Linked DNA regions of Homo sapiens: region 1 is linked to region 2. Evidence: promoter capture Hi-C in human tissues and cell types (Jung and others, 2019). All regions are on one chromosome and are shown on one strand. The core of a region is centred on a gene start or on the middle of the fragment in contact, and the rest is flanking DNA. Distances in the headings are between cores, read along the strand shown. Region 1 has its middle 310 kb from the start of METTL4. Region 2 holds the start of METTL4 (methyltransferase 4, N6-adenosine).

Region 1 (2,700 bases), core at 145-2,644, 310 kb after region 2:
ACTTTAAACTTGTGAGAAGATCCTTGTTATTTCTTGGCTCAGAGAGAGGTAGTTTACCTTCTGACAGTAACAAAAATGTAGGAGTTAGTATAAGAAAGAAATAAAAGGGAAAGGAGGACCTGGAAACATAGTTTTGGCCTTAAGATGCTGCCATCTTTGAATAATAGTTGAAATGCAGGAAAAGTCAAAGCCTTAGAAGAATGAAGGGCTGTGAATGGATTTTATTACATTGCCAATACAGTTGACCCTTGCATAAAGTGAGGCTTGGGGTGTGGACCCCCGTGCAGTTGAAAATCTGCGCATAACTTTTGACTCCCAGAAACTTAACGACTAAGAGCCTACTCTTGATGGAAGCCTCACTGATAACACAAACAGTTGATTAACACATTATTTTGTATTTTATATGTATTATATACTATATTCTTAAAATAAAGTAAAGAAAACAATGCTATTAAGAAAACCATAGGAAGAGAAAATAGATGCACTCTTCATTAAGTGGAAGTGGATCATCATGAAGGTCTTCAGCCTCATCATCTTCATGTTGAGTAGGCTGGGGAGGAGGAGGAAGAAGATGGGTTGGTCTTGCTGTCTCATGGGTAGAAGAGGTGGAAGAAAATCTGCGTATAAGTGGATTCATACAATTCAAACCTGTGTTGTTCAGGAGTCAACTGTTCTTCCAATCACAGTTCACAGTTTCACAGCGCAGCTTTAGGGACATTTAAAATTATTCTTTGTCGGGCACGGTGGCTCACGTCTGTTATTCCAGCACTTTGGGAGGCCAAGGTGGGCAGATCACTTGACGTCAGGAGTTTGAGACCATCCTGGCCAACATAGTGAAACTCTGTCTCTACTAAAAACATAAAAGTTAGCTGGGTGTGGTGGCGAGTGCCTGTAGTCCCAGCTACCCAGGAGGCTGAGATAGGAGAATTGTAGGATAATCGCTTGAACCCAGGAGGCAGAGGCTGCAGTGAGCTGAGATTGCACCACTGCACTCCAGGCTGGGCAACAGAGCGAGACCCCATCTCAAAAACAAACCAACAAAAAAAAATAAAAGAATTATTCTTTGAAATAATCTATGAAAGTGTTTCTATAATACAAATGTAGAAAAATAATGTAATACATAAAATTAATATAACATAACTTAATACACAAACTTATAAGAATAAATTTTGCATTGAAGAGAATCTCAGAAGTAAAGTAACCACAGTCTCCTGCACTATGTAGTTACCATGAGGAAAGAACCCTGGGGCTATGTATGCCAGGGCAGGGAGCCTAGAGAGTCCGCAGAACCTCTGCCATGGCTGTTCACTTGGAATGCTTTTCTTGTTCACCCACACCAGTGTTCCTCTCAGAGCCATCTGCAGGGACACTGATAGATATCTAAAGGATGGATGTTTAGCAGGATATGATGACCAGTGTCATCTGTGGGTCCAGGTGTCTTAGTTAGCTCAGGCTATAATATAACAACATACCCCAGACTGTCTTATAAATAACAGACATTCATTTCCCATAGTTCTGGAGGCTGGAAGTCTGAGATCATTGAGCTAATGTAAATATAATCGGGTTCTGGTGAGGGCTCTCTTCTGGGTTGCTGACAGCCACCTTCTCCTTGTATTCTCATGTGGTGGACTGCAGACAAAGCAAACTCTCATGTCTTTTCTTTAAAGGGCACTAATTTCATTCATGAGACCCCTTATGACCCAATCACCTCTCAAAAGCCCTACATCCTAATAACCATCACACTGGGGGTTAGGATTACAACTTATGAATTTTGCTTATGTGAAGAATATTCACATGACCATTGTGAACATTAACAGTCAGTCCATTGTGCTGGGTAATGAAATCTCAAAGATGCTCTCTTCAAGCTGCTGAATTGGAGGGCATGCATGCTGTTTTGACAGCACCTCCAATAGGGAGGGGAATGCTAGGCAGAGGTGAATTTGACCATCAATACTGGTATTGTGGAGTGGGGGCAGCATTGAGGGGTAGCTGCCCCTAGGGACCAGGGAAGGGTCTTAATGAGCCATAAAACTGTGAATTTTGAATTTTCAAATGGAAGAATCTACCTTAGATTCAGAACAGAACGATGATTATGTTAACTGTTGATTAGGTAACTAACACCCACCATATTCCCAAAGATGTGGAGAAATGACATGAAATTTTGCATGCCACTTGGAAACTCTTAGATTTGAGCATCTCAAGACTTCCCCCTTGTTACACAACAATCTTTGAGAGCATAGTTTTCTTTCATTGATTTTTGTCAACATATTGGTTTAAATTTTGCCAGGTAAAAGCTTTGGAACTGCAGAACAGGGCCTTTGTTCCTTTTACATCATGCTGCCTTTCATTTTCTATTATAGCATTCTCTCTAAATGATGTGCCTTAAGATTCATTCAGAATGCCACGGCTGACAGATGGCATTCTCCCTGTCTGACTTGGTGCAACACAGCCGGGCACTCTATAAAAACTGAGAAGTCAGAGCTCTCCTAATTCTCTGCTCAAAATTGAGTACCTGTTGAGGAACCTGGCTGCTGCTTAGCAGCTACAGTGTGGGGCTGGGAACTGGTGTTCAGGGTTAACTGACGCACGGGGGCACGACAGCCCTGCTCTGGGTTTCCTCTGCCATGTGCCGGGATGGGCGACATGCTGGCCTCTGGGACCGGTCAGCAGAGGTAATGTCTCCCTGTGGTGACACATTTT
Region 2 (2,700 bases), core at 23-2,522:
ATATTCAACATAAACATTTATTAACTGCCCACTATATATATAGGGGAGTGTGCTAGGCAATGCAGGAGATGCAAAGACGAGTAAGTTACGGTTTTTGCCTTCACAAGGGTATCCGTGGTAGCTAAAGCCCTGTCTGTTACCCAGACCACATTACTGCTGTTGGCTGTGCCTATTTCAATAGGAAGACAAAAAAATTACCTCAAATTCTCTTATTCACCTCAAAATGTTTCCTTTTCTTTGGTTTCAGAGAATGGAATTATTCTGTTTTCCTAATGTCAATCTCTCCTGCTCTGTCCTTAACCCATTGTTTCCTCAATTACTGCCCTTTTGGCATCAATCTCCCCTTCAACAAGGATAAATCATCCGGTCCATAAAATGGTCTATAGGCTGCCTCCATTTACAAACCACATTAACAGGTCACTCCCTTCACATCTGCTAAAAAATTTGTCTCCTAGGATACACATGATTGACAAAACTTTTGATCCTGTCTCATCTCTGCACCCAGCCTTCTCAGGTCCTGCCCTGGCTTTCAGGAAGGTGACAATCCTTTTACTTCTCTGGGTACTCCTTAGTCTTTTACACTGATTAGACTCTTCTTGATTTTGGCCGCCTATTTCCTCTTCAATATGCGCTTGTTCATCTATTCAACTTTTCCACTCACACCTGTGTGTCCACGTTTAATCTCCACTTAGAATGTAGCTCTCATGATTTAAGATGAAGACTTCTACACGCAGTCCTACACGGCCATAAGAAGCTACACTAGTATTCAGACGCAACCCACCCAACGAGTCCTCTCTTGTCCATCTCTTTCCGCCCCCTTCAATTCTTCCCCGTTTCCTCTCCCGAGCCTCCACTCCTCATCAGTGTCCCCCAGGCCCTCCCCTTTCCTCCTTGGGAAATCGTTGCCACTAGAAATTTAATAGATCCCGTGAAACCAGCGCCTCGCACAGTTTTGGCCTCGAGGCTTCTCCCAACAGCAAACAAACACCAAAACATCGCCTCAGGACCTCTAAATTTAAGTCATTGGCGCCATCACTTTCTTCCTCCAGAACAGCTCTGCAGAAACAAAGTTAATCCGATGTCATTCAGTCACCTTTTTTCCAGTTTCCTGACACGACCCAGGGACCGAATTTCTGTAAACCGTGCAAGTATCTGCTAGACAGGACAGCGGTCATCAAAACACCAGGTCCTTCCTCGGCCCGCCAAAGCCGTTCGAATTTGAAATTCTCCGCCGGCGCTGACGTCATTACGCACGACGCGCGCAGTAACTTCCATGCGACCGCCTCGTCGCTGGAAGGCTGCGTGCTGGTCGCGCCCAGCTGCGTCACCCCAGGAACTGGGGTCTGTGGGCCAGTGTGGCCGTCTCTACGAAGACTGGCACGACCCCTAAAGTTAGGTCGGAAGACCTGTGGGCAGCTTGAGCGCCGAGGAGTGCCCTGAACGCTCAACTCGCCCTGGAAACGTTTTTCCGTACAGCAACATGGCGGCGCCCATGGACTCTTAGAAAAGGAGAAAGCTTTTTCTCTGTGGACTGGAAGGGGCATTTTTCATGATCACTATTTAGATGGGTGCTGTTTTCATGAGGAGAGTCTGGGAAGGCGGCGTCCGCTTTTCTGACAAGGGAAGAGGTGAGGTGGGAGAGGGGCTGCGGAGTGGGTGGAATGGGCTCCCAGGATTGCGTTGGTACGGCTGCCGAAATTCGGGCTCAGTATTTGATCACTTGCCGGAGGCTCACGGTCCTCTGGTGGTGGCTGACCTGTGAGAGGCTAGGAAGAATCCAAGTGTTTGGGGGCGGGCGGCGAGGGAGTGGATGTGAAGCAGAGACGCAGGAGAGGGGTGCACTAACAACAGTAACAGTAGATCACTTTGCTAAAATAGGATTTCCTCGCTGCTGTGAGTTTGAATCCAGAAACAGGCACTGCCCGGTACCTGGAGAGTGGTGGTGATGAAAGATCTCACAGCTCCAGGAAGTCTGGATACTTGGGTCTGGTAGCAATTGTGCCATTAACTAGCGTTGTTATTTTTGGGCAGCTTGCCTTTCTGCTCTGAGTTTCAATTTTCCCGTCTGAATTTCTAGCTCTCACTAGCCATTCCAGGACCCTTTTCACCTCAGCTGTGGCCTATGAAGGGGATGGGGAGGAACCAAGGATTATATTAATATAAAAATTATATGAAAATTAGGCAACCGTCTGATAATAAAAAGTCTCCTTGTGGAATACTGTTAGGTTAAACTTTACCTACAGATTGTTAAATCCTTAGCACTAATGTTTTCCCCAGAAAAGATTAATGGAAACATCATTTGCTTTTCTGACTAGATAGTTGCTGCTTCCAAAGGTGGTTTTACACAAATACAAAATTAAAAACACCTTTAGTACAGAAATAATTGCTTGTATTTCGGTATACATTCACAGTACAGTTCAGCATTTAGTGGTCCTGCTAGCAATTTGCCAGGAAGTCAAGCCTGCCAATTTCCTGATATTCCTGCTGTGCACCCCAACTTCTTAATCCCTGCTGAGGATCTTGAGAAGCAGCAGCACCAAAACCAAAGTAGGCACCAAATTCAAGGTTCTTTTGGTTCCGGTTGTCACATTTCAAGCTAGACTCCAATAGATGGAAGGATGATCACATGTGAGCCCTGTTTAAAACTTCAATTTTTAAGAGCAAGCACAATTGCAGGAAAAGAAAACAATTCAGAGGGAT

The links. Contacts are between HindIII fragments. The study calls those that stand out against the background at their distance.
Region 1: a fragment that was not itself captured here is called in contact with the fragment with the promoter of METTL4 in region 2 in 5 of the 25 tissues and cell types used here (H1 embryonic stem cells, IMR-90 fibroblasts, dorsolateral prefrontal cortex and 2 more).

What each region holds. Positions count from the first base shown.
Region 1 is chr18:2,263,381-2,266,080 of GRCh38, reverse strand. No RefSeq gene overlaps it. Among named protein-coding and RNA genes, the nearest start is that of METTL4, 310 kb to the left of the region's middle. The HindIII fragment of the contact is 8,974 bases long and covers 1-2,700 here.
Region 2 is chr18:2,570,077-2,572,776 of GRCh38, reverse strand. METTL4 (methyltransferase 4, N6-adenosine) reads left to right here and starts at 1,272. Exons shown (of 9, transcript NM_022840.5): 1 at 1,272-1,628. NDC80 (NDC80 kinetochore complex component) reads right to left here and starts at 1,220. Exons shown (of 17, transcript NM_006101.3): 1 at 1,094-1,220. RefSeq lists enhancers at 1,215-1,374, 1,257-2,179. The HindIII fragment of the contact is 12,565 bases long and covers 1-2,700 here.